6 separate regions of the Homo sapiens genome follow, and regions 1, 2, 3, 5 and 6 are each linked to region 4. The links are contacts of gene promoters, found by promoter capture Hi-C in blood cells and fetal thymus (Javierre and others, 2016). All regions are on one chromosome and are shown on one strand. The core of a region is centred on a gene start or on the middle of the fragment in contact, and the rest is flanking DNA. Distances in the headings are between cores, read along the strand shown. Region 1 overlaps MMP20-AS1 (MMP20 antisense RNA 1). Region 2 holds the start of MMP8 (matrix metallopeptidase 8). Region 3 has its middle 5.9 kb from the start of BIRC3. Region 4 holds the start of MMP7 (matrix metallopeptidase 7). Region 5 overlaps MMP27 (matrix metallopeptidase 27). Region 6 has its middle 35 kb from the start of BIRC2.

The links. Contacts are between HindIII fragments. The CHiCAGO score rates a contact against its expected background, and 5 or more counts as called.
Region 1: a contact is called between a fragment that was not itself captured here and the fragment with the promoter of MMP7 in region 4, in 1 of 17 cell types (M0 macrophages). The highest score is 5.1, in M0 macrophages.
Region 2: the fragment with the promoter of MMP8 here is called in contact with the fragment with the promoter of MMP7 in region 4 in 3 of 17 cell types (M0 macrophages, M1 macrophages and M2 macrophages); the score reaches 10.3 in M0 macrophages.
Region 3: a contact is called between a fragment that was not itself captured here and the fragment with the promoter of MMP7 in region 4, in 6 of 17 cell types (M1 macrophages, M0 macrophages, M2 macrophages and 3 more). The highest score is 11.6, in M1 macrophages.
Region 5: a contact is called between a fragment that was not itself captured here and the fragment with the promoter of MMP7 in region 4, in 2 of 17 cell types (M0 macrophages and M2 macrophages). The highest score is 7.7, in M0 macrophages.
Region 6: a contact is called between a fragment that was not itself captured here and the fragment with the promoter of MMP7 in region 4, in 3 of 17 cell types (M2 macrophages, non-activated CD4 T cells and naive B cells). The highest score is 5.4, in M2 macrophages.

The regions. Positions count from the first base shown.
Region 1 is chr11:102,669,573-102,673,951 of GRCh38, reverse strand. The region is part of intron 1 of MMP20-AS1 (MMP20 antisense RNA 1); the gene reads right to left. Among named protein-coding and RNA genes, the nearest start is that of MMP20-AS1, 31 kb to the right of the region's middle. The HindIII fragment of the contact is 1,329 bases long and covers 1,039-2,367 here.
Region 2 is chr11:102,721,550-102,726,439 of GRCh38, reverse strand. MMP8 (matrix metallopeptidase 8) reads left to right here and starts at 1,486. Exons shown (of 10, transcript NM_002424.3): 1 at 1,486-1,686; 2 at 3,767-4,011; 3 at 4,678-4,826. The coding sequence starts at 1,585. RefSeq lists an enhancer at 1,080-2,279. The HindIII fragment of the contact is 5,644 bases long and covers 1-3,852 here.
Region 3 is chr11:102,309,356-102,313,722 of GRCh38, reverse strand. It overlaps the pseudogene RNU6-952P. Among named protein-coding and RNA genes, the nearest start is that of BIRC3, 5.9 kb to the left of the region's middle. RefSeq lists an enhancer at 3,211-3,505. The HindIII fragment of the contact is 1,936 bases long and covers 990-2,925 here.
Region 4 is chr11:102,528,914-102,533,392 of GRCh38, reverse strand. It overlaps MMP7 (matrix metallopeptidase 7), which reads left to right and starts at 2,646. Exons shown (of 6, transcript NM_002423.5): 1 at 2,646-2,800. The coding sequence starts at 2,693. The HindIII fragment of the contact is 6,591 bases long and covers 1-3,061 here.
Region 5 is chr11:102,698,987-102,704,080 of GRCh38, reverse strand. It overlaps MMP27 (matrix metallopeptidase 27), which reads left to right. Exons shown (of 10, transcript NM_022122.3): 3 at 963-1,111; 4 at 1,200-1,328. Among named protein-coding and RNA genes, the nearest start is that of MMP27, 4.2 kb to the left of the region's middle. The HindIII fragment of the contact is 8,436 bases long and covers 1-5,094 here.
Region 6 is chr11:102,379,539-102,384,639 of GRCh38, reverse strand. No RefSeq gene overlaps it. Among named protein-coding and RNA genes, the nearest start is that of BIRC2, 35 kb to the right of the region's middle. The HindIII fragment of the contact is 6,214 bases long and covers 1-5,101 here.

The DNA.
Region 1 (4,379 bases), core at 454-2,953, 140 kb before region 4:
ACATAAAATTCAGAATCTGGATGACAAAGAAGCTCAAAAAGATATAGGAGAAGATTGAAACCCAATCAAGAAAACCAGTAAAACAATCCAAGAGTTGAAAGATGACATATCAATTTTAACAAAGCATCAAACTAAACCTCTAGAAATGAAAAATTCACTACAGGAATTTCATAATGAAATCAGAAGCATTAATAACAGAATAGACGAAGCTGAGGAAAGAGTCTCAGAGCTCAAAGACTGCTCCTTCAAACCAACACAGGCAGACAACAATTTTTTAAAAAATTTAAACATGAACAAAACCTCTGAGAAATATGGGATTATGTAAAGAGACCAAACCTACAACTCATTGGCATTCCTCAAAGAGTTGGAGAGAGAGGAAGCAGCTTGGAAAACATATTTGAGGATGTTGTCCACAAAAATTTCCCCAACCTTGCTAGAGAGGTCAACAGGCAAATTCAGAAAATTCATAGAACCCCTGCAAGATACACTAGATGGTGAACAACAATTCCCAAGACACATAGTCGTCAGATTCTCCAAGGTCAACATGAAAGAAAAAATCTTAAAGGCAGCTAGAAAGAAAGGGAAAGTCAGGTACAAAGGGAACCCTGTCACACTAACAGCAGGCCTTTCAGCAGAGACCTTACGAGCCAAAATAGATTAGGGCCCTGTATTCAGCATCCTTAAGGGAAAAAAAATTCTAGGCTGGGTGTTGTAGCTTATGGCTGTAATCCCAGCACATTGGGAGGCCAATGCAGGAGGATCACTTGAGCCCAGAAATTTTGGACTAGCCTGGGCAACTAGGTCAGACCCACATCTCTACAAAAAATAAAAAATTAGCCAGGTGTGTGGCATGTACTGCAGTCCCAGCTACTCAGGATGCTGATGTGGGAGGATCACTTGAGCCCAGCATGTTGAGGCTACAGTGAGCTGAGATCACACCACTGCACTGCAGCCTGAGCAACAGAGTAAGATTATGCCTTAAAAAAAGAAAAGAAAAGAAATTCCAACCAAGAATTTCCTATCCAGCCAAACGAAGCTTCATAAGTGAAGGAGAAATAAAGTCCTTTTCAGACTGACAAATGCCAGGGGAATTCATTATCACCAGACTTGTCTTACAAGAGATCCTGAAGAGGGTGCTACGCATGGAAATGAAAGACTGAGGCCTGCCACCACAAAAACACACTTAGGTACATTGCCCACTCACACTATAAAGCAACTATTCAATCATGTCTACAGAACAACCAGCTAACACACAGTGACAGAATTAAATCCTTAGATATCGATATTGACCTTGAATGTAAAGGTCTATGAATGGTGTCAACACATTCACAATATCAATATGTGTGAATGTAAAGGTGTAAACATTTCACTTAAAAGGCATAAAGTGGCAAGTTGGATAAAGAAGCAAGACCCAAGTGCTTGCTGTCAAAAGACCAATCTCATCTGCAATGGCGCCCATAGGCTCAGAGTAAAAGGATGGAAAACGATCTATCAAGAAAATAGAAAACAAAAAAGAGCAAGGGTTGCTATACTTATTTCAGACAAAACAGACTTTAAACCAACAATGATCAGAAAGGACAAAGAAGGGCGTTATGAAATGATAAAGGGTTCAATTCAACAAGAAGACTTAGCTGTCCTAAATATATATGCACCCAACCCTGGGGCAGCCAGATTCATACAAGTTCTTACAGACCTATGAAGAGACTTAGATAACCACACGATAACAGCAGGAGACTTCAACACCCCACTGACAGTGTTAGACAGCTCATCAAGGCAGAAAACTAACAAAGATATTTGGGACCTAAACTTGACACTTGACCAAATGGACCCTAACAGGCAGCTATACAGCACTCCAACTGACAATAGAACATACATTCTTCTCATCTGCACATGGCATGTAATCTAAGATATAGAACACTCCACCCAACAACAACAGAATATACATTATTCTCATCTGCACATGGCGTGTACTCTAAGATTGACAACATGCTCAGCCATAAAGCAATTCTCAAACAAATTCAGAACAACCAAAATCATACTAACCGTGTTCTCAGACCACAGTGCAATAAAAATAGAAATCAATACTAAGAAGATCACTCAAAACCATACAATCACAGGGAAATTAAACAACCTGCTCCTGAATGACTTTTGGGTAAACAATGAAACTAAGGCAGAAATCAATAAATTCTTTAAACTATTGAGAACAAAGATACAACATACCAGAATGTCTAGGACACAGCCAAGAAGTGTTAAGAGGAAAGTTTATAGCACTAAATGCCCATCAAGAAGTTAGAAAGCTATCAAATGAACAACCTAACATCACACCTAAAAAAACTAGAAAAAGAAAAGAAAAGCAACCCCAAAGCTTGCAGAAAAAAAAGAAATAACCCAAATCGAGCTGAAGTGGATGAAATTGAGATATGAAAATCCATGCAAAAGATCATTGAAACCAAAAGTTGGTTTTTTGAAAGAATAAAAGGAATTGATAGACCAGTAGCTAGATTAATAAAAAGAGAGAGAGAGAGAAGGCCCAAATAAACACAATGAGAAATGACAAAGGTGACATTACCACTGACCCCACAGAAATACAAAAAACCCTCAGGAACTATTATGAACATCACTACGCACACACACTAGAAAACCTAGAAGAAATGGATAAATTTCTAAAAACATGCAACCTGCCAAGACTGAACCGGGAAAAAGTTGTAATCCTGAATAGACCAATAAAAAATTCTGAAATTGAATTAGTAATAAAAAACCTACAAACCAGAAAAAGTCCTAAAGCACATGAATTCATAGCTAAATTCGACCAGATGTACAAAGAAGAGCTGGTACCAATCCAACTAAAAATATTTCAAAAAATTGAAGAGGTGACTCCTCCCTAACTCATGCTATGAGGCCAATATCATTCTGATACCAAAACCTGGCAGAGACACAATGAAAAAGAAAACTTCAGATCAAAATCCCTGATGAACATAGATGCAAAAATCTTCAACAAAATACTAGTAAACTGAATCCAAAATACTAATAAACTGAAAGCTAATTCACCACAATCAAGTAGGGCTTTATTCTTGTGATGGAAGATTGGTTCAACACGCAAAACCAAAATTCGTCCTCTTTCATGTAAAAACCCTTAACAGACTAGGCATTGAAGGAACATACCTCAAAATAATAAGAGCCATCTATGACAAACCCACAGTCAACATCGTACTGAACACGTGCAAAAGTTGGAAGCATTCCCCTTGAGAACCAGAACAAGACAAGGATGTTCACTGTCACCACTCCTATACAACATAGCCAGAGCAATCAGGAAAGAGAAGGAAATAAAAGGTATCCAAATAGAAAGAGAGAAAATCAAACTATCTCTCTGCACAGACAATGTGGATTATGCCTAGAAAACTCCATAGTCTCTACCTAAAGGCTCCTAGAACTAATAAACAACTTCAGCAAAGTTTAAGCATACAAATCAATGTACAAAAGTCAATAACATTTCTACACACCAATAATGTTCCAAACTGACAACCAAACCAAGAATGCAATCCCATTCATGATATCCACAAAGAGAATAAAATAACTAAAAATACAGCTAAGCAGAGAGGTAAACAAACTATACAACAAGAATTGCAAACACTGCTGACAAAAATCACAGGTGACACAAATGGAAAAATATTCCATGCTCATGGATAGGAAGAATCAATATTGTTAAAATGGCCATAATATCCAAAGCAATTTACAGATTCAATGCTATTCCTATGAAACTACCAATACACCTAAAAAAACAGAAATTGACAAGTAGGACCTAATTAAACTGAAGAGTTTCTGCACAGAAAAAGAAAGTATCAACAATAAACAGACAACCTACAAAATGGGAGAAAATACTCACAAAGTATGCATCTGACAACAGTCCCTTTATCCAGAATCTACAACGAACTTAAATCAACAAGCAAAAAACAAACAACCCCACTAAAAAGTGGGCAAAGGATATCAACTGACACCTTTCAAGAGAAGACATAATCTTAGCCAGCAAGCATATGAAACAATGCTCAACATCACTAAGCATTACAGAAATGCAAATCAAAACCACAATGGATACTAGCTCACACCAGTCAGAACGGCTATTATTAAAAAGTAAAAAAATAACAGATGCTAGTGAGGTCATCTAGAATAGGGAATGCTTATACGCTACTGATGGAATGTAAATTAGTTCAGCCCTGTGAAGAGCTATAGAAAGTTTAAACATTTCTCAAAGAACTTAAAACAGAACTACCATTTTACCTAGCAATCCCATTACTGCATATATACCCAAAGGAACATAAATCATTCAACCAAAAAGACATGTATGTTCATCACAGTGATATTCACAATAATAAAGATATGGA
Region 2 (4,890 bases), core at 237-2,736, 190 kb before region 4:
TCCTTGATTTCACTCCCTCCACACCACTGCTGTTTCCTCCAAACACCCACAGCATTTTATCCAAACCTCTATTAATTTATCTCCAATACTCTAGCACCCATCACAGCATGTGGCATGTAGTAGATGACAGGAAATGTTTACTGAATGAATGTAGGAATATACATCATTAACATTAATCTGCTGTCCAGATATGTTCTAACCCAAGACACCTTTCTTTGGATCATTTTCAAAGTTCCTAAGTGACCTCAGGAAAGATCAGAACTCCTTATCATAGCATCTCAAATACACTCTTTACATATTAATACATGCTATGTATCATACATGTAGACACATGCATTTATACACAAGAATACCTGCCTTTACCAAATATGTATGCATATATGTAAATGAGTATTCACAAAGACTGTGTATGATAACAAACTACATGCATGTGGACTCAGAATAAGTGGGACCAGGTTACATGATTTGAAAAGCATGCCCAGGGGCCTCTGACAAACAGTCTCCTATGTAGCCATATTGTCTGGAAATCTCTCAGTGTCTTACTCCTTGAAGATGTACAACATCTCATTCTCCCTCTCCCTTGTCTTCTGCCTGTGAATATAAGCCAAAGTATCCAGCTGTTGAAGGCCTAGAGCTGCTGCTCCACTATGGCCCAGCCAGAGACTCAAGTGGGAGACTACCATGCAGAGCTTATAGTAGCTCCCAGCTCAGTCTCTCTAAACATACCCTCTGGGGTTGAATCCTGGCCCCTCCACAAATGAAACATGTGACTTAAACAGGTCATCTAAATGTCTCTGGATTTGATTTCATCTGTAAAATGGAGATAGTAATAGCATCTCCCTCCCAAGGCTATGTGAAGATGGATTGGGGTAATATGTGGAACACAGTACAAATGTCTGGGCAATCATAATTTTTTAGCAAATGTTCATTATTATCATCATCAGTATTGTTCTCTTTATCTTTTCCATGGAAAGTCTAACTTATAGACTAGGGATTTTCTAATATGTTGATACCAAACCACATCCTCCAGAAGCAGCTCTAGGCCCCATACAAAGCCTGCTTTGTAATAACACAGTCACTCATTCTCTCCACATACAATGAGGGAGGGTAAGTACAGAGATTCTCTAGTTGGGCTCCTTGGTCCCAAGATATCTACCACAAACCTCAAAATATTCCCCTGCATAAGTTAATTCAACCTCAACATCTTACATAGTCAAAAAATGTATCCACATAACTTCAGGATTAGTCCCTTGTTCCTTTTCCTCAACCAATTTTGTAAAAGGAAATAACTAAAACATCCAAAAGCAAAGAGTAGAAAGTTGGAGTTTTGAAAGACTGTTGAAAGACTCCCCCATTTGGGGGTACTAAATCACATTATAAAATTGCAAAACTGTCAGAGTGTAATTAACCTATGTTGCTTCATATTCCTGATGCAGCAATTGTTTAAGACATGGCTTTAAAGAGGACTGCAAGAGAGCTGTGAGTGACACATGATGCTGTGAACGTCAGGGTGCTCGCCAGGGAAGGGCCCTACCCAGAGGGACAGAAAGAAAGCCAGGAGGGGTAGAGTTTGAAGAGAAGATCATGTTCTCCCTGAAGACGCTTCCATTTCTGCTCTTACTCCATGTGCAGATTTCCAAGGCCTTTCCTGTATCTTCTAAAGAGAAAAATACAAAAACTGTTCAGGTAAATGAACTATCAGTTAGGTGATGTTTGATTTGCTGATTATTAGGAAATAGTGTGGGTTGTTTTCTCTTGTTAATTAAAACAGCCTGAAAGAAATTATTTGGGTGATTAGTTTGAGATTGAACATCTCCTTTTAGTGATTTGGAGGGTTCCAAGCTGGTAAGGACTAGGCCTTTTAAAAGCCGGACATGAAAACAAGCTGAATTCTTTAAAGGCTGGGAAAATACTGCTGTAGAGTTACCCCTAGTTGGGAAACTTTTGTAGAAGAAATGGTTTTATTTATAAAATGGTATCATTTTCTTTCTCATTTACCTAAGGTTTTTCCTTCCAGGATATCTGCAATCAAGTTACTATATGTCTGGTGCTTCCATACAGGCATTTTCTTTGCCGCCAAAAATTCCAGATATAGAAAATAATGTGAGGATGGTAGATTACAATGAACTAGAAATCAGTACACAGTAAAATCATATTTCCCAGCATCAGATTGTGGACTGTTTATAAACTCTTGGAAGCATTATAAAAGCAGAACCAATAGTTTTTTTCCATTGTTTCACAGTCTGAAAGTGAACCCAAATTTTTAAGAAACACAAGGGAATTCTGTCACAAATCTCTCATGCACAGTTTTCTTAGCATTATAGTTTGGAGAAAGCATTATTATTATTAAGAGGTTATCTCTTAATTGTAACCCCCGGGTTAATGTAAAGTCCATTGAGTGCTTATTCTATGCAAGGCAACTGCTACACATTTCACAAATATCTCATTTAATCCTCACAAGAACCTTATTGGAGCATTATTATTTTCATTTCAGAGACAAAAATATCTTAAATCAGATAAATAATGTGGCCAAGTGCTCACAGTTAATTCATGGCAGAGTTAAGATTTGAACCCAGGCCTGTCTGATTCCAAAGCGTGTGATCTGGTCAGTGTCACCTACTGCTGTGGTTAGAGTGTGTCCCTTGAATTTATGTGTTAAAGATTTAGTAGCCCATGTGACAGTGGGTCCTTTAAGAAGTACTTAGGTCATTAAGAAAGATTAATGACACTCTTGTGTGACTGGATTAATTTTTGCTGGAGTGGGTTCTGGCTCTTGCAGAACTGGATTAGTAATTAATAGAATGGGTATTATAAAGAGGGGCTGCCCTTTGTGTTTTGCCCCTTTTCACACATGCTTGCTCCCCTTTTGTTTCTCTGCCATGTTATGACACAGCACAAGGCCATCTCAGAAGCCAACCAGATGCAGCCACCTGATCTTGGACTTCCCAGCCTCCAGAATTGTGAGAGAAAATCAGCCCCTTTTATGTATAAGTTACCCAGCTTCAGATATTCTGTTATAGCAACAGAAAATGGACTAAGACACTGACAAGGTGCCAGGTGTTCACAGGCAGCATGAGGTCTAGTTAGGTTACATTTCACTGTGTATGAAGAAACTTTTAAGCCAAACTTAAAATAGGTAATTTTTAGGCTAAACTCTTTGGATTTTGACTAAATTTAACACTTCCAAAGAGTTACTTTGGTGAATAAAATGCTAATATCAATGATATTGCTGTTCCCCTAAAAGATATTTGAAATTATTTTGAAATTATCAGTTCTCATTTGAGAGGCAACATGGTGAGTTAAAATCTGAATCATCACTTGGAAAATTCCTTAATTCTCTGTGCTTCTGTTTGTTCAGCAGAATAAATAAGCCTTTTCTACAGTAGTGAAGAGGATAAAAAAGAGGAACTGCACTGATGCAACAAATACCTCAAGAGAAGTCAATTAATGTTAGTCCTAATTTTTTTGTAAAAACAAGAAGACAGTCTCCTGACTGTAGAGTAGCACTTTGCCTGTGTGATGTGATCCTCATCCCTTATGAGACACCCTTTTTTATGCATAACCATTAACTGGAGCACTGAGTGGAGGAACTGTTCTTTCTAAAAAGAGTTGTTCTCTCAAAGCCAACCTACAAATTAATTTGTGTTATTGTTCCTGTGGCTGTCAAGTTATCAGACCTCTGTAGTAACTTAGAAAGGGTTGCAAAATGACCAGAGAACTGGAGGTCCTTTCACAGCAAGACCCCTATGTGCTTGTCTTTGTCCAGGACTACCTGGAAAAGTTCTACCAATTACCAAGCAACCAGTATCAGTCTACAAGGAAGAATGGCACTAATGTGATCGTTGAAAAGCTTAAAGAAATGCAGCGATTTTTTGGGTTGAATGTGACGGGGAAGCCAAATGAGGAAACTCTGGACATGATGAAAAAGCCTCGCTGTGGAGTGCCTGACAGTGGTGGTTTTATGTTAACCCCAGGAAACCCCAAGTGGGAACGCACTAACTTGACCTACAGGTGATATCTCTAGGGTTTCAGGATACACTCATTTATCCAGTATGGACTGGGCTCTTATATGACAGACACTGTTCTTGGGATACACTAGGAACAAGTAGATAAATATCCCTGCCTTTGAAGAGTGTGAGTAGTGAATGAATATGAGAATGAAAATGTTGAGATACCGTGGGTTCTTTCCACTCCAAGGCTTCCCGTTTTAGTCTTCCTTCTCCAACAATCTAAAGAGGACTACCAGCAATGTTAGGCTGTCTCTCTAAGCACTTACTTTAGGACCCAACAAAGGCTTAATCATTGCTGGAGAGAGTCAAGTCCCTCCTTTCATACATCTTAATAATAATAATAATATCTAATATTTGTGGAATATTATTACTATTTGACAAGTAATGAACTAAATGCTTTATATGTATTTAATCCCCACGGCAGCCCTATGAGAGGGATACTATATTAGTATCCTCATTTTATGAATAGGAAACTGAGGTTTAAAGACATGTATTAACTTGTTCAGAACCCACATCTGTCCTCCACCCTGAGACCTGCACTCCCTCCTTATCCTCTCCAGTGGTAGCACACCATGATGCAACTCACTTCAAAACAGAACAACTCATCAGTTGATGGACTACTGTTCTAAATAACATTTAACTCTTCATACATCCTCTCATTTTGAAGGATTCGAAACTATACCCCACAGCTGTCAGAGGCTGAGGTAGAAAGAGCTATCAAGGATGCCTTTGAACTCTGGAGTGTTGCATCACCTCTCATCTTCACCAGGATCTCACAGGGAGAGGCAGATATCAACATTGCTTTTTACCAAAGAGGTAGGTACAAAGCAGTCATGCTCAGTTTTGCTTTCTTTGGCTAACCTGAAACTTGGCAAGGATC
Region 3 (4,367 bases), core at 708-3,207, 220 kb after region 4:
CAGCCTAAATATATTTTCTCTCCAAATACTCTTATTTTCTTCCAAGCCAGTGAATTCCAAGCTCCAAATACTCTTTTCACGACAGAAATACACAAGGAAACCTTTGAGGAAAGTGAAAGCTAGACACAAACTGTATAGCCATTACTATCTTCAGTTTTCTAGGTTTGTTTGTGGTTTTTTTGTTGTTGTTTTCTCATTTTTATTTTTTTGAGACAGAGCCTTGTTCTCAGGCTGAAATGTCACCCAGGCTGAAATGCGGTGGCACAATCTCAGCTCACTATAACCTCAACCTACTGGGCTCAATCAATCCTCCCATCTCAGCCTCCTGAGTAGTTCTGACTACAGTCACGGGCTACCATGCTTGGCTAATTTTTGTATTTTTTATAGAGACAGAGCCTTGCGATGTTGCCCTGGCTGGCCTCTTGGGCTCAAGTCATCTATCTGCCTTGACCTCCCAAAGTGCTGGGATTATAGACATGAGCCACCACACTTGGCCTCTTGGTTTTCCAGTTTTTTTCTACTGTCAGTGTATGAGCAAGGTATGAATGACAGAGTTTTTCATCCCATTCCTGGCTCAGAACTCTGACAATTCCTGAGAGCGGTATGCTCTCAATATCCTATTATCAAATAATCAATTTAAAAGTATTTTTCCCTTGGGGGAATTATTATTAAAAATATTTTTTCTCTGGAGGGAATTTCGCATAATGTTGTAACAACTTTAGTTGTAGCCTAATGCTTTTTCACTGTAAGTTTTTAGATTTTTATGTATAAAGAAACCCAGGAATCTAGAACTGAAAGTGAAAGTGAAATCTTACAGGGAACATACTGTTCTAATTCCAAAGCAAATCTGAGAGTCCTTGTAAATGTTGACAATTTCCTGGTCTGTTGATAACTTTCTAACATCTTGCAAATAAAATACAATTACACCAGCCTTGAATAAGTGCTAACGAAGATCAAATTTACAAAGAAACCTCCTCTAATGTAAAGCTTTAGTCAAGATAATGAAGTTTACCCCTCATAAATGGTGGCTTACTTTATTTTATACTGATAGTACTCTAATAAAATATAATTTATATCATGTAAAGTACACAGATATTAAAAGCGTATAGCTTTATGATTTTGACAAATGAATGTACTCAGTTAACTATCAACCAGATCAAGATCAAGAACACCTTCCATTACCTCAGAAAATTCTTTCATGCTCTTTTGCAGTCAGTACCAAGCTATAATGCCCCCACCACCCCTCCCCCTCCCACAATCACTATTATGATTTATCACCCTAGATCTCATTTGTTTGTCCTTGAACTTCATACAAATGAAATCATATGATGTGTACTCATACTGGCTTCCTTCACTCAACATATTTCTTAGTTTCATCAATATTGTAACATGTATCAGTAATTTGTTCTTTTTATTGCATAGTAGTATTCCACTGTATAAATATACCATAGTTTCTTTTATTTTGAGACTGAGTTTTGCTCTTGTTGGCTAGGCTGAAGTGCAGTGGCGAGATCTCAGCTCACTGCAACTTCCACCTCCCGGGTTCAAGCGATTCTCCTGCCTCAGCCTCTTGAGTTGCTGGGATTACAGGTGTGCACCACCACGCCCAGCTAATTTTTTGTATTTTTAATAGAGATGGGGTTTCATCATGTTGGCCAGGCTAGTCTTGAACTCCTGACCCCAGGTGATCCACCTGCCTTGGCCTCCCAAAGTGCAGGGATTACAGGCATGAGCCACCGCGCCTGGCCTACCATAGTTTCTTTTTCTGTTTTCCTGCTAATGTACATTTGTGTTGTTGCCTGGTTCAATCCCTTGTGAAAAGAACTTATAAACTTTTTTTTTTTGAGACAGAGTCTCACTTTTTTGCCCAAGGTAGAGTGCAGTGGTGCCATCTCAGCTCACTGCAACCTCCACCTCCCAGGTTCAAGTGATTCTCGTGCCTCAGCCTCCTCGGTAGCTGGGACTACAGGCTCGAGTCACCATGCCCAGCTAATTTTTTGTACTTTTAGTAGAGATGGGGTTTCACCATGTTGCCCAGGCTGGTCTTAAAGTCCTGAGCTCAGGTGACCTGCCCGCCTTGGCCTCCAAAAGTGCTAGGATTACAGGCATGAGCTACCATGCCCAGCCCAGAACCTATAAACATTTTAGATTTTTTTTTCTTTAATAATATAGATGAGGTCTCACTATGTTGTCCAGGCTGGTCTCAAACTTCTGAGCTCAAGCTCAAGTGATCCGCCCAACTCAGCCTCCCAAAGTACTAGGATTACAGGTGTGCCCAGCCATTGTGCCCAGCCCATTTTAGTTTTTCTTTTGGTGAACCTATGAATTCTTCCTGTTGGCTAAATACCTGGATACGGAATTGCCATTGGGTAGGTGTATGTTTTATTTTTATTAGAAATTGCCGAAAGTTTTACAAAGTCTTTGCACCATTTTACACTCTCACCAGCAGTGTATAAGAGTTCTAGTTGCTACACATCTTTCCCAAGGCTTAGTATTGTGAGCCTTTTTAAGTTTAGCTCTTCTTTTGGGTATGTGGTGGCATCCCATTATGCTTTTTTCTATCCCTGTTGATTAATGATGTTGACTATATTTCCATATGCTTCTCGACACTTTAGATATCATATTTTGTGAGGTGCCTGTTCAAATCTTCCTCCAATTTTTAAATTGAATTGATTGACTTCAGGGAATTCCTTATATACCCTGGGTTGAGTCCTGTCATTGACATGTGCACTGTGAACAGTTTCTCCCCATTTGTAGCTTGTCTTTACGCTTCATTAATAGTTTCTTTTGATAAGTAGAATATTTTAATTCCATGAAGTCCAACTTATAATATTTTTAAGTTCAGTGTGTTTTATATCATGTTTAAGAACGCTTTGCCTATCCCAAGATTATGAAGATTTTCTTCTATATTTTCTTTTAGAAGCTTTGTGATATTCACTTTTCTATTTAGGACTATTGAAATGTAAAAAGGGCTGGGCGCGGTGGTTCATGCCCGTAATCCCAGCACTTTGGGAGCCCAAGGCAGGTGGATCACGAGGTCAGGAGTTGGAGACCAGCCTGGCCAATATGGTGAAACCCCGTCTCTACTAAAAATACAAAAATTAGCCAGACGTGGTGGCGTGCGCCTGTAGTCCCAGCTACTCGGGAGGCTGAGGCAGAAGAATCGCTTGAACCCGGGAGGTGGAGGTTGCAGTGAGCTGAGATCGCCCCACTACACCCCAGCCTGGGTGACAGAGCGAGATTCCGTCTCAAAAATAAATAAATACATAAATAAAATAAATGGAAAAAGTTCCCTTGTCCCCCTCGCAGGGCTTGCGACAGACGGAATGGCTCACTTCTTCAGTGCCCTGCTGCTCAAACCTCTAGGGGGCGCATGCAGACGGGCAGGCTGTGGGGCTCTGACACCACTGCAGTGTCTAGGGGTGAATGTTCAAGCTGAAGGCCCAGTGGGCGTGTGTTACAGGGTGCTCTTTTAGTTTAGCCATCCATAGGCGGCTTACGTTAGCTCAATTAGACCCCTGGCTTATCGCAAAGACAGAGGGCTTTCTGTATCTCAGGGTTCTTGCTTTGGTGTTCCAGAAGAATAGGATTACACGTGGGTTTGGAGAATGAGTGCAAGGGTTTATTGACTGGAAATAGCTCTCAGCAGATGGGGGAGCCAGAAGAAAAATGGTTTTCCTGTGGAGTCGGGCAGCTCGGCGGACCTGGGCTCTCCTTTGACTGTCCCAGACAAACTTCGTGTTGTTCAGCGGTCAATGGCCTGCCTGCCTGCTGGTGTGCTCCTACGCCGTTGAGTTCCCCTTGATGTCCAGCCACCTGTGTGCCTGCCTGCTAGGGTCTTGGGCAAACATTGGAAAACAACACAAGATCATTCAAGTCAGTGTCTTCTACTTCTTTCCGCAATTCCGTAAACTGGCACCGATCCATAGCATTTGCATGCATATGTTGCGCAACTTTCATAACTGTATCCACTACGCTTTCCATGAGCCTGATTCAGAACACTGAGCACAAATGTTTTCAGTATGTATTTATGATGAAAGAAAGAAAGGGACACATCAATCTTTTGTTTTAAAATTTCCTAAATTCATATCTAGCTGAAACTCTTCTTTGACAATATTAAAGGTTCAAATATTTCTATACCATGAGTTTGACCTTTTAGTTTTACATGTTGGCAACATTTCATAAATTTGGAAGTTCTTTGAGATGAAACATATCCAAAATATTAATTGGGCATGACTTATCTAAAGGTAAAGTACTTGCAATTTTTCAAAATTTTAATCAATTATCTTTGATATTCTTAAAAGGGGCTTGTAGGCTATGGGCAACTGTTTGGTGGCATAATTTAAAATATTTTACTTTTTGTGAAA
Region 4 (4,479 bases), core at 1,397-3,896:
ACTGCCCCAGAAATTCTCTGTGCTTTGCCTATTCATCCTGCCTATCCCACGTCCAGCCCACACAACTACTGATATTTTTACCTATTTTTGCCTTTTCCAGAATGTTACATAGTTCGAATCATACACTAAGTAGCCCCGCAGATTGCTTCTTTCACTTAATAACATGCATTTAAGATTCTTCCATGTTTATTCATGGTTTCACAGCTCATTTCTTTTTAGCACTGAATAATATTTCATTGCCTGGATGTCCCGCAGTACATGTATTCATTCACCTACTGAACGACATCTTGGTTGTTTCCAAGTTTGGGCAATTATGGATAAAGCTACTATAAACATCTATATGTATGTTTTTGTGTAAACATTTATTTTTATCTCCTTTAGGTAAACACCAAGGAGCACCATTGCTGAATCATATTGTAAAAGTATGTTTCATTTTGAAAGAAACCATCAAACTGTCTTCCAAGGTGGCTGTACCATTTTTCATTTCCACTAAAACATCCTGCAATTGCCACTGTCAGCGTTCTGGATTTTGGCCTTTCTAATTGGTAAGTAGTGGTATCTCATTACTGTTTTGATTTGCATTTCCCCAATGACATATGATGTGAAGAATATTTTCATATGCTTATTCACTATCTGTATATCTTTTTTGGTAAGATGACTGTTAAGGTTTTTGGCCCATCTTTAAAATCAGATTGTTTGTGTTTTTATTGTTGAGTTTTAAAAGATACTTGTATATTTTGGATAACAGTCCTTTATTGGATATGTCTTTTTTTTTTTTTTTTTTTTTTTGAGAGAGAGAGAGAGTCTCCCTCTGTCACCCAGGCTGGAGTGCAGTGGAGTGATCTCAGCTCACTGCAACCTCTGCCTCTGAGGTTCAAGCAGTTCTCGTGCCTCAGCCTCCTGAGTAGCTAGGACTACAGGCACGCATCACCATGTTTGGCTAATTGTTGTATTTTTATTAGAAACAGGGTTTTGCCATGTTTCCCAGGCTTGTCTCAAACTCCTGACCTCAGGCAATCCACTGGCCTCAGCTTTCCAAAGTCCTAGGATTACAGGCGTGAGCCACCGCGCCTGGCCATGGATGTGTCTTTGCATTCATTTTCACCCAATTTGTGGCTTGTGTGCTCATTCACTTGAGGAAATGCCTTTTGATTTTAATTCAATGCAAATATTACCAAAAACGTGATATAATTCCATTTTTAGCTTATTCAAGTAAAGTTCATAAATATTCATTATTCTACAAATATTTATGGTGCACCTTATCACATGTCAAACTCTGACTAAGGATACCAATTACTCTAGTTAAACTGTGACCGTACAGAATCAAGACATCTCTGTAAAGAGAGCAAATTTAATTAACTGATCTGAAAATTTTACCTTTGCTGGCTCACAGTGCTCAATTACCATGTAATTGAAGTGATATGTGATTAATTAAATTTTTTAGCTCCAGCATATTTGGAGTGTTTCCCATGATGTATTAGAGTCAAAAGCCATGGTGTTCTCCCAAGTAATGTATAATATAATAAAAGAGACAGACCTATTACAAAATGAATAGGCAGTGCAGTGGGATAGAAAAAGCACTGAGCTACTATCTGTGTGAGCTGGGAGAAGTATAATAAGTTAAATTATCATCTTGGCCTCACTTTCATTTTTGGTAAGAATGGAGTCATTGGGCTAGAATCTGTAGGTAATGGATTCTTACTGCTATACGTAGAATAACCATTTTGTGTACTAAGGACCAATGCAGCCCTACCTGTAGCTGGGCAGCAGCCAGAGTCAGAGTGATTGGAAGAAAAAAATTGGATCTCCAAGTTGAAGGTCTAGCCTTGGAAGAATCTGTTACTATAAAATGAGAAGCAGAATAAGTAAGCCAGATGAAGAGTTAAACCCGTGCTTGTAGATTTTTGTTGGCTTGGTATTTTTTTGTGTTTAATTCAAGAAGAATTAGAGGCAGTGTTCCCCATTAAGAAAAGACATAAACTGATTAAAAGGAGACCCAAAGAAGGGAATTATCACTGCTCTGCTAAGGGACGTGGAAGGTGAGGGGACACAGCACAGTTGTATATAGAGTGGCCACTAATCCAGCCACACAGCAGCATTTCCATCTGCCTCCTGCCATCTTTCCCCTGTATGGAGAACCACAGGATTTTGGTGATGTTCTATTTCTTGACTTTGGTGACGGTTACAGTATTTGCTTAATTATTATTTCATTATTTACATGTTTTGTGCACTTTTCCAAACCTTTTAATTGTTAAGAATATATGGTACCATGTATTTAAGAATACATGGTACCATATAATAAGAATATATATTTAAGAATATATATTATTCTTTAAGAATATATGGTACCATAATGTCCTGAATGATACCTATGAGAGCAGTCATTTGACTTTGGCAAAAAAATGAGGTTTCTCATGGAGTCAATTTATGCAGCAGACAGAAAAAAAAATCCTTTGAAAGACAAATACATTGTGTGCTTCCTGCCAATAACGATGTAATACTTCCTCGTTTTAGTTAATGAAAAATAACACATACTTTCAAAGTTCTGTAGACTCTAAAAAGAAAGAAAACACTCAAATGAGTCACCTATTTCCACATTCGAGGCTGAGAAGCTATATAAATTTCTGCAGTCACTAGCAGAAAACACCAAATCAACCATAGGTCCAAGAACAATTGTCTCTGGACGGCAGCTATGCGACTCACCGTGCTGTGTGCTGTGTGCCTGCTGCCTGGCAGCCTGGCCCTGCCGCTGCCTCAGGAGGCGGGAGGCATGAGTGAGCTACAGTGGGAACAGGCTCAGGTATGTCACAGCCCACTTACTTAGGGTTCCATTCTTTTGCCATCTGCATTAAGAAATGTGTTTTTCAATTATTTCCCTTCCCATGTTAGCATTGCAGTGGAATTTTCTTTGGGGTGGTTCTTCGGATTATAAAAGCAATATATGTTTTCATCAAGTAGCCATTAAAAGCAGGTTTCAGAATCTGCTCAAATCGGGCTTGAGTTCCAACCCTCCACTCACTATGTAGATAGACTCAGGAAGGTCATCAAACTTCTCTAAGCTTCAGGTTTCCAATTTGGAAGTTGGAGATAAGAATGGTATCAACCAAATGAGGGTGTTGTGAAGCATTCAACACAATACCTGAAACATTGTTTAAATTAAGTTCTTATTTTTATTTATTATAACTTGAGATTCTTTTTCTATAGTATACAGAATATTGCCTCTTAAGATACAACCTGTAAATATACTGTTTGTGTATTTACAATACTGTTTGTAATGGAGATATCTGAAGTCAGAAAACATGGGTAGAAATTACAACTCTCCAACAAGTCAATGACAATAGACAAGGCATTAACATCTGACTTTGTTTTCTCATGTGTCCAGTAGAAAAAATAATATTATGTGTTTTATACCTCATGGGGTATTCTAGTAAGTAAATGAGGTGATAACAAAACCAACTAGCATGTATGTAACAATTGTAGATTATAAAGTACTTATATAGACATTGTGTCATTTAATCCTTAGTTCTATAAAAAGAGGAAACCAAAGTTAAACTGATTAGTGTACTTATTAGTGGTAGAGATAGAAATCAAGGACAAGTGCTTCTGGTTCAAAAATCATGTTCCTTGCAATATGCTTCTTAATAAGCAGTCTAATAAATATAAGCAGTCTACTAATTATTATTTGGTTAACTAATGGGATGATTACTTATAACTATTATTTGTAAATTTAGGCCTTAAGCATAAGAAAAGTCAATTTTTAATTCACATTAACTTAGACTTTTAAAAAGTTCCAGTTATAATAAGTTAGATTGAACCACATAAAGTTACTAGTATTTAACTTTTAAAATCTCCAAAACAGTAGTTTTATATGGTTCCACCTAATGAATTCTCCAGAAAGAGTACTCTGCGTTTAGTTTCTTTACTTAGAGTGAAGGTTGGCAGAAACTTAGTCTTCACTTGGAGGGATGTTAGCTAGGTTTAACAAAAAAACAGGAAAAGTCATCTCAACAAAGCAGAGAGATTTCTTCCAGAGGGTGTCTTGGTAAAGTCTGTAGCTCTAGAAGGGATTAAATGGGTTATTTGTTTTTAAATAAAGGATCAGTTATCAATTGTCATGGATGAACAATAAGTATTTGTTGTATTTAATGAGACAATTGTTGGTAACAGGAAAAAAAGACACAATATTAATAAGATTTCTTACATAAATTGCATATTCCTGGGCGGTCCTAAGACAGGTAACCATTACCATCTACTCCAAATAAACTGCAAATTAGTGAGCCAATGTTTAAATCATTTTAACAACAATATTATCAGGCATCATATAACCCTACACATGTTTCTAATGTATAGAAGTCAGAACACTTGAGTTCAAATACTGGTTCCTTCAGTTACTCACAAGGTGATCTTGTGCAATTTATTTCACTTCTCTGAGCTGTGTTTCTTCATGTATAAAATAGGGATAACAATGCCATACTTGTT
Region 5 (5,094 bases), core at 1,987-4,486, 170 kb before region 4:
GGGTGTTTCCCTCAGACATCTCAAGGAAAAGGGGGCAGGCTGACTCATTGGCAGGAAGAGGATGAGGTATGCCTTTGATCTGAGACAGAGACAGTCACCTTGACCATCACTCTACAGCCTTTCTGATAGTTCTTCTTTCATCTTACTGAGTGCTAGGACTTGAGATAAAAATGAATTTAGCAAGATAGGCAACATAAACGAGAAAAATCTTTTCCTGAGCAATTCTTGTGGTTCTCATGTAAGATTCTTAATATATGGACTGGGTGTGGTGGCTCATGCCTGTAATCCCAGCACTTTGGGAGGCTGAGGCAGACGGATCACCTGAGTTCAGGAGTTTGAGACCAGCCTGGCAAACGTGGCAAAACCCCATCTCTACTAAAAAACACAAAAATTAGCTGGGCCTGGTGGCACGCGCCTGTAGTCCCAGCTACTCAGGAGGCTGAGGCATGAGAATCACTTGAACCTGGGAGGCAGAGGTTGCAGTGAGCCGAGGTCGCGCCACTGCACTCCAGCCTGGGGGACAGAGCGAGACTCTGTCTCAAAAAAAAAAAAGTTCTTAATATATGGTACATGCACAAGACTGATTTCTACAAGCCATTCAAAAAAATGATTCTCAGTTCTTTTTAAGAATGTCTTTATAATACTTTCATATACAAGCCAACACGTACATGAGATAAATGCTGTCTTGGGATGTGATCTTAGTGAAGTCATTTAACCTCTTTCAGCCTCCTTTGTTGAAGTGTTAATACTACTGATTCATAGGGAAGATAAAGGAATTTAATTCTATAGTATATGTAAGAGTATTTCATTTAAATAAAGTGCTAATGCAACTGTAAGATAATTGCACCACACCAAAGTTACTGCAGCACATTATTGATAAGCTAGAAATGTTTTTTGTAGTTATGTGTGTATATTCATGCATGAATAAGCCAGAAATTGACATATTTTTGTTAATTTTTAAGAATAATAAACTATACTCCGGATATGGCACGAGCTGCTGTGGATGAGGCTATCCAAGAAGGTTTAGAAGTGTGGAGCAAAGTCACTCCACTAAAATTCACCAAGATTTCAAAGGGGATTGCAGACATCATGATTGCCTTTAGGACTCGAGGTAAGGTTTTCAACAGAGAGCAAAGCTATTTTTATCTCAGGAGATTTGAGGAAGCTGATCTTTTTTCCTCGCATAAATTGTATCTCAGTCCATGGTCGGTGTCCTCGCTATTTTGATGGTCCCTTGGGAGTGCTTGGCCATGCCTTTCCTCCTGGTCCGGGTCTGGGTGGTGACACTCATTTTGATGAGGATGAAAACTGGACCAAGGATGGAGCAGGTGAGTCTAATTTTCTTTATGAACAAAATCTTATTATTCTAAAGAATCCCTGAAAAGAATAGCTTTGTAACTAGCTGCTTTTTAACTGTAAAGTTCCCAATGTCCCCACAATTTTCCATATTCCAAGATGACCTTGATGGAAGTGTTCAATACACCCTCATAAAGTGGCTACTTCTACTATGATCAGAGCAGTCTTCATTATTTATACATTCATTCATACACCCATAATGTCTGAGGGGCCACTGTGTGCCCGGAACTATACAAGGTGTCCTATGGACCCCAAAGTTGTACTAGAAAAGTGTAAGCCTTCAGAGGTTCATGATCCTGTGTGGTACACAAGGCCAGCCCACATACCTGCCATATAAGGCAGAAGATGTTTTGTGTTGTACCAGTGGCAGAAGTCATCTGTTGCTTGAGGATTGAAAGAAGACTCTAGGGAGGTGGTAATTTTGAGTTAGCAATTAAAGGACAGTATATGGATTCATAGCCCATAGAGGCTCTAATTCAAAGCATGAACTTCCTCTTCTAACTCTTGCCCAGCTGCAAAGGAATCAGACCTTAATCCTTATATTTGACTTATTTCTTCAAACCAAGTAAGTTTATTTTATTTTTCTCAATGGGTCTGCCTGGCATTCAAGGTGTTTTACTACTGTTCTGACAAAAATATCAAACTGTACTATATTAACAGGTAGCAATGTAGGCCTCAAAGAAAAGAGCAAGCTCAATAGATTTTTGGGTCCCCCATTCTTTTGTTCTGTCATTGGCAATAGTTACCTTGGGTCTGGTGTCTAGCTTCCAGAGTCACAGGAAAGCACAGGTTGTAGTGGTCCTGATGGATAGTATACAAGGACACAGATCATTCCCGACCATGTATCTCCAGATAATCGGTCTAGATCAGCTTTGCACTTTCTGTGAAACTAAAAGTCTGTCACACAAAATGGTCCATGGCCACTCACTGCTCAGTCAGAACAGGTGATGCAACTGTTTTTCCAAGTGCCAGTGAAAAGGGCGAAAGTCAGTACTGGCTGAGGTTCAGGCAGCAGCAGGCAAAATCTGGGATTGGCTGCTGCCATTGCCACATGACTTAGCATCACAAGCAGACAAGAAATTGAAGGAGGTAAGATAACATTGTCACCCAAGCAAGAGAGGAAAGGAATGAACCATGTCTGTTGTGTATCTTCTGCTGAGACATGTTTCAATATTTCTTTGGTATTAGTCTGAAGACACTGCGGGTGTGTTTCACCAAACAGTTACAGGAAATATCCTAGCACTTGCCAAAATCAGAATGACTCCCCTTGCTCAGCCAGGCTTTACTTTCATAGCTAGAGGCAGAGATCAAAGATTTCACTATCCTTTTGTCTCTTAAATCCAATGCTAAGTAGCAGTTCCTCTTACCCATACTGCTTTAAGCCCTCTGCCAAGGGGGACATGTGGGGTAAGTTATTTTTTTTTAAGTCCGATGTATCTGGGTTCCACATCGGTAAGGCTCGCTTGAGCAAGGCAAGAGATAAATACAGTCCTCAACCAAGTTCTGGGTGGGCAACCAGGCAGCAGTTCCAAAAAGGATTGTCTTCTGACCACTTTATTTCAGTCCCTCAGAGTAGAAATTGTGGGCCCTCTGTGATCCAATTGTATAACTCTTAGTTCACTGACATTAAAGGGGAAAATACCTTCCTCTTCTCCAATGGAAACATAAAATATCAAGCAAACGTAATCTCCAACAAAATTGCAATTTTTAAAAAATAGGCAATTCAGCAATAACCTATATGATCACCTCTTTCATTGCAATGTGGAGGCTCTGTTTTATGGAAGGGTGGCAAAAATCTTGGTGTAACTTGCTTAAGAGCAACAGACACATCATCTGCCAATGATGCTATTAAGCTGCTTCCTCCGGGAAGAACAGGTCATCGCATGGGGATGTCAGAGGACTTTAAGCACATACAGAGATTTTCCTGAGAGTCTCTCAAAGCAAAGCCAGGTGCCAAGCCTATTGTGAGTGTGTGTGTGGCACACACGTGTGCACCAAACAACTGAACAGGCCTTACAGACTGCTACAGATGCAGTGTTGGGAAGGAGAAAAAGCAATGGTTTGTAGTTTGGCAGACACTGGTTCCTTTCAGGGCTTCCCATTGACCAGCTGAGGGACCCGGGGCAAGTCAAGTAATTTTCTTACTCTCTATTTCTTTGCCTGTAAAAGAGTAATGATGCTCTTCTTTTAGGAGGGTGAAATAAATTACCCTTACCCTAACTAGGTTAATAAAGGTGAAAACCCCTTTCAGAGCAGTTGTCCATAGTGAACACTCAGAAAGTGCTTGACATCAAAGATTCTGTTGACAATTGTTAGTATTGATGATGATAATGATAACTAGGGTGGAATTACATTCTAGGCATAAGGAAAAATATTTGAAAAGCTATGAATGTATAATGCACAAATTTGTCTATTTAGTCACATCTCCATGAGACAGAGACTTTTGTCATCTTTTACCTACAGCGTCATATGGCCAATAACAGTGTTGTCACATGAGAAATACTCTACAAATCATTGGTAAATAAAGTCACTCAATGATCATTTATTGAACATCCACTATGACTCAGGCTCTGTCATAAAAATGAAATATACCCTTGTATATAGGACACAGAAGCTGCCCTCCAGGGCTTCACTGTCTAAGGGACACATAGACAATTAAATGGCAACTAAAATCAGTAGGATCAGTACTGAGATAAAGGAAACTATGGCAATGTAATAGGTCCTCACAGAAGAAAGTCCAACCCAGACCCACAGGTCAGCAGAGGAAGCTATGTCAAGCCTGAGAACTGGAGGCTCAGCAGGAACTAAGAAGACAAAGTAGGGTGAAGAGGGTGAATAGGAGTGTTCTGAACAGAATAGCTCAATCCAACATAAGGAATAGAATTGTAGAAGACAAGGCTAAAATGGCGAATAGGATTCAGATTACAGAGGGTCTTGAAAGCCAGAATAAAGATCTGGACTTCATTTAGAAAATCTGAGCTTGAATTATTTTTCCCAACAGTCATTTTTCCAGTTCCTTGTCCAAAAGCACACACAGTGATATAGCCAGCCAGGCAAGGGGCAGCAACAAAGGCAAGAGCAGAAAAGTGTCAAAGACCATGACATAATTCTTTGCCCTTTTACGTTTGCTTCATGCAAACATCACTAGGCAAATTTCCATCAGGGAAGCTGAGGTTTTCCTTAGGCTCCATGCACTTAGTTGCAAAGCCAGGGATGGACTTTATGTATGTATGTATGTATTTATTTATTTATTTTTTGAGACCGGGTCTCACTCTGTCACCCAGGCTGGAGTGCAGTGGTGCGATCTCGGCTCACTACAACCTATGCCTATTGGACTCAAGCAATTCTCCTACCTCAGCCTCCCAAATAGCTTGGACTACAGGCACAGGTCACCTTGCCTGGCTAATTTTTTTTTTCTTTAGTAGAGACAGGGTTTCTCCATGTTACCCAGGCTGCTCTTGAACTCCTGAGCTCAAGATATCCACCCACCTTGGTCTCCCAAAGTGCTGAGATTACAAGAGTGAACCACCACGCCAGGCCCAAGAGGGTGGTCTTCTATACTTAGAGCCTTACAGACTAGTGGGAGAGGCAGACAAAGACAAAGGCAATTCTAACATGCCTGGTAAGACTTCTGGAAAGGGCACTATGGTCATGTTTAGGAAACACATCTAACCATTTTTGCATTAGACAACACTTGGACATCCATTAATCATTATTAAGCAGTCACAATCACTAGGA
Region 6 (5,101 bases), core at 1,792-4,291, 150 kb after region 4:
TACAGAAAGCCCTCTGTCCTTGAGATAAGGCAGGGGTCTGAGCTAACACGAGCCACCTACGGACAGCTAAACTAAAAGAGCACCCTGTAACACATGACCACTGGGGCTTCAGCTGTAAAAATTCACCCCTAGACCCTGCCATAGGGTCAGAGCCCTACAGCCTGCCCATTGGTATGCTCCCCTAGAGGTTTGAGCAGCGGGGCACTGAAGAAGCGAGTCACCCTCATCGCATGCTCTGCAAGGGGGACAAGGGAACTTTTCCTGTTTCACATCCTAACCCTCTTCCTTCTCATCTCAGGAAAAGATGGCCTTTCTGTGCAAAAATATCTAGATTTATCACCTCCCAGCTACTCAAAGACTTTTCCCCTTTCTATTAAAACATTAATCATAATCACTTTAAAAAAAATTTTTTAAGAACCAGGTAAAGTGCCACCTCTTTTACACAGAACTTTTACCACGCTTCAAACCTGTTCGTTTTCTATTTTTCTTCTATTCCTTGTTCTCTGCTGCTAGTGCTGCTGCTTCAAAAAGTTGAGAGGAAGGCATGTATCAAAAGGTCTCTCAGGACATGTTGTTCTATCCTGTTTCTCTGCTGTGGGATCAGGAATGGAATTTCCAGGAACCTCCAGTTCTCTGCACCCAAGGGTATATAAAAGGAAAAAAATCAGCTGATAAGGAACACTTCCTAACTCATTCTATGAGACCAGTATTACCCTGATACCAAATCTAGACAAACATACCACAAAAAACTAGAAACCAATATCCGTTACAAATACAGATGCAAAAATCTTCAACAAAATACTAATGGTGCTTTATGAATGTGGCTTCAAGCCTAAACAACTTGCCTTCCCAAACCCCTTTTATATGGAAATCCAATTCTGCCACTACATTGTTCTTTGTGAATAATACCTAAAATCATATAACTCCTCTGCTTAAAAACCTACAGCTCTTCTTTACCTAAAGAAAGAAGTCTAGATAGCAAAACCCATAATTTGTAGTCCTCTTAAGCGTGGTCCCCATCCTATCTTCCCAACCTTGTTTCCCATTATTCACCTTCATCGACCCTACAACTACTTTTTGCAAAAATGATTCAGGCATTTTTGTCTTTCTTCGTTTTTCCCTCTTCCTGGAAAATACTTCCCTATAACTCCATTCTCCAACTTTGCATATTTTAACCCTATTTAATCAATACCCAATTGAGATGCTATTTCATCTGAAATTCTTTTAAAAAAAGTCCCCATAGCACTTTATCTGAACCTCTCTTATGGTACTTATTTCCTACTTTGGATTAAAATATCTCCAAGCCTCAGTAAAACAAGAGTAGTATGTTTTAATTCATAGGACAACTCCCTGTTCTCTGACAATGCTTGCTCTTTTGCACCTCTGTGCCTTTACTTTGCCAAACCTATCACTAATCTCTAGACCTGATCCTGTTTTTTCACCTGTGTGTGTAAAAGATTTTCCAATATCCTGAATTGTGCTATACTACGAACTACTCTAACAACCAAAATAGCCTCAAAAATGGATACTTTAAGTAATGAATTCTGTCTGAAACAGAGGTTGTACATGTACTTGTCAGAAATACTATAAGGAGATTTTATATTATCAAATAGGACAGAGAAAATATCTTAGTGTCCATGTAGCTTTGAAGCTGAAATTATGACTTCTATATTTACAGAAAAATAATTCGGTATTTGCTTGCTGTCATGGAAAAATAAAGATATTCAAGACCTACTACTGAGTGAAAAAGCAACCTTAAGAACATTTCTATAACCATATGTATGTAGGCATGTGTGTATATACACACCCCCACACAGTGAATACATACCAAATTTAACAGTGATTACTACCAGGGAGGGGACTGAAAGTACTAGTGGGGAGAAATTAAAGGGGATTCAAACATTTTACCTTATATACTGATTGTTTGAAACTTTTACAACAAATATCTATTCTAAAGTATTTACCTGCCTTAAAACAAAACAAAACAAAAAAAAAAAAACTGATTGGAACACAATGCTATGACTCAGTCTATCCAGGTCTGATATGAAACAGGATGCTTGCTACTTGGGAATCAGACCTATGACACCGTCTTTAGCAGAGCCCACTAATGAAGAACACAGAAGTCATGTGCAGCTCTACATTAGACCCTACTACAGCCCTGTGAGGAATAAGCAGGACAGAAATTCACCCTCACAGAAAAGCTGAGGACCAGAAACAGTTGTAAAGGGCTTGCCGAAGACCTCATTAAACGGCAGAATTAGACTTAGAGGCAAAGTCTTTGGATTTGAAATTCAGGGCTCTTTACCTATTACCTTTCATTATCAGAGCTGCTAAGGCTTAAAAGCTCCAAGGACTCGATGGTTAAAGCCTATCTGGACACCATACCAGAAAGATAACAGGACCTAACACAATAATCAATTATTACCATAGTCTTTCCATTTCTACTAAGCTATCTAAATCTTCTTCCCCTGAATAATCACGCATATCCCAATGGACCAAGTAGGCAAAAGAATCTATTATGGACTTGTGGGGCTCAATAAATAACATCCCTTTTAGGCAAGTTTAGAACCAATAAAAGGAGTCATCACGTGACAATGAAAACATCATGTTTATCATTGATAAAAGATCTGAAGGATGATGCTTTCGTGTAGATTTCCTAATATGAATGCTAGAAGGAAACAAACTTTACCAGTCACTGGCCCCTGTGACGCCAACATCACAGAAGGACAGAGTATGCTCTCTTCAGACAAGCTGCCTCCCAAAGAGAAAGAAGAAAGAAGGGATTGAGCTACTGGGCATATCCATGCTTCTCTCCCAAAAGCACCAAGACGATAAGCGCAAGGGAAAAAAGAGTTCCTTCTATGTTGAAGAAAACCTAACAGATAAGACTAAGTATTCTCCCTTAATACAATGCTTCTTAGATTCATTTTTTGTTTTTTTAATCAGTCTAATGGTTTTACCACACACCAGTGGTTCTTAAATGCTGGTCCACTGACCACCATTGTGTCTGCACCAATCACTGCAAATGTCAGCACAGTGAAAATAGCAAATAGCATCTTACTTCTGTTTTGTTGTTGCCTCCCACGTTCAAACAATTCTCCTGCTTCAGCCTCCGGAGTAGCTGGGATTACAGGCGCCCGCCACCACGCCCAGCTAATTTTTGTATTTTTAGTAGAGATGGGGTTTCACCACATTGGCCAGGCTGGTCTTGAACTCCTGACCTCAAGTGATCAGCCTGCCTCGACCTCTCGAAGTGTTGGGATTACAGGCGTGAGCCACTGTGTCCCGCCAGCATCTCAGTTCTACTTTTAATTTTTTCAGAGCACCTAAAAGGGTTGAAAGAACTGCTACTATCTACTGATAGGTTTCTTTTACATATAGTAGGGGATACTCATTGAAATGTTACACCTCTAGAAAAAATTTAGGTGTGTCTTTAAAGCTGACCATTCGTTGTCCTTTGACTTATGGAATGGCAGTCAACAAGCAATGAGTCTCTTAGGTTGCTAGTGTTGAGAAGAGCAAACTATTCAGCTCTGGTACTTGAGCTCTTTTAAGAAAAGATGTGGGAAACAAAGGAGAAGCCTAACTAATAATCATACAATTCCTCCCATTTAGGTTAAGACAGGGAAGAAAGAGATCCAAACACAAGTTAAGAATGTAGTAAACTAAAGTATGGGCTGGATGTGGTGGCTCACACCTGTAATCCCAGCACTTTGGGAGGCAGAGGTGGGTGGATCACCTGAGGTCAGGGGTTTGAGACCAGTCTGGCCAACATGGTGAAACCCCGTCTCTACTAAAAATATTAGCCAGGCGTGGTGACGGGTGCCTGTAATCCCAGCTACTCAGGAGGCTGAGGCAGGAGAATCACTTGTACCCAGGAGGCGGAGGTTGCAGTGAGGTGAGATTGTATCATTGCACTCCAGCCTGGGCAACAAGAATGAGACTCCATCTCAAAAACAAACAAACAAAAACTGAAGTATGGTTTAGCAAGAGATTTAAAAAAAAAAATGTAAATGTTCTGGAGCCACTTCCACCTGGACTGTATACAATTCACACTCTACCACTTGTTATCTCTAGCAAATTACATGGTTTCACTGGGCCTCAATTTCCACATTTGTATTATAAAAAAGAGATAACATGTTTCCTACAGTTTTAAGGATTATGGAAGGCAATAAAAAACCTAACAAAGCATCTGACATTCATCTGTCTGCTCAACATAATGAGCACCTGCTAGGACACTGATTATCATCATTAAGAGGGCAAAAAAGATAAGAGACTAAAACCCTAATCTCAAATCCAGGTCCATTTGAGAAGTTTGCAAGCAGATAAAGTATAAATTACACTATGTTTAGTTATATTTTTTGCATTATTTTTACTGAATGTGAAAAACACAGACGTCTTTAAACTGACTAGCTGAATAAAGCCAAATAAGGTAACTCTTTTATAAATAGATAAAAATCATAAGTTGCTACAGTTATACTAGATGGCAGCCCATGTTAACTTTTAAAAATGTAAGTATAGCTTATTAGGACAGTTTGTTAAAAAAGCACAAGCTAAGGAGCCAGGCAGATCTGTGTTCAAATCTTACTTTGCAAAATTGCTGAAAGGATCAGAGCCGATGTGCTTTAAAGTATCTATTAACGGCAGTTTGTATTACTTGGCTAAGGCTGCCACAACAAAGTACCAATGACTGGGTGGCTTAAACAACAGAAATTTATTTTCTTACAGTTCTGGAAGCTAGAAGTCCAAGATCAAGGTGTTGGCAGGTTTGGATTCTTCTGAGGCCTCTTCCTCGGGTGTCTTCACATAGTCACTCCTCTGTGCATCTGTATCCTAATCCCCTTTTCTTAGAGAACACCAATCATGTTGATTAGCAGTCAACTATATCATCTCATTTTACCTTATTTGCCTCTTTTAACAACCCTATTTCCAAATACAGGTACATTCTGAGGTACTGGCAATTAGGACTTCAACATACAAATTTGCGGGGAACACAACTGAACCTACAGCACATCTCAATTGTTTAACGCATTTAGCACTGTATCTGGCAAATGGGATCCTTGATAGAGTAGCTATTATAAGCAAAATAAGAAAAAAGAGA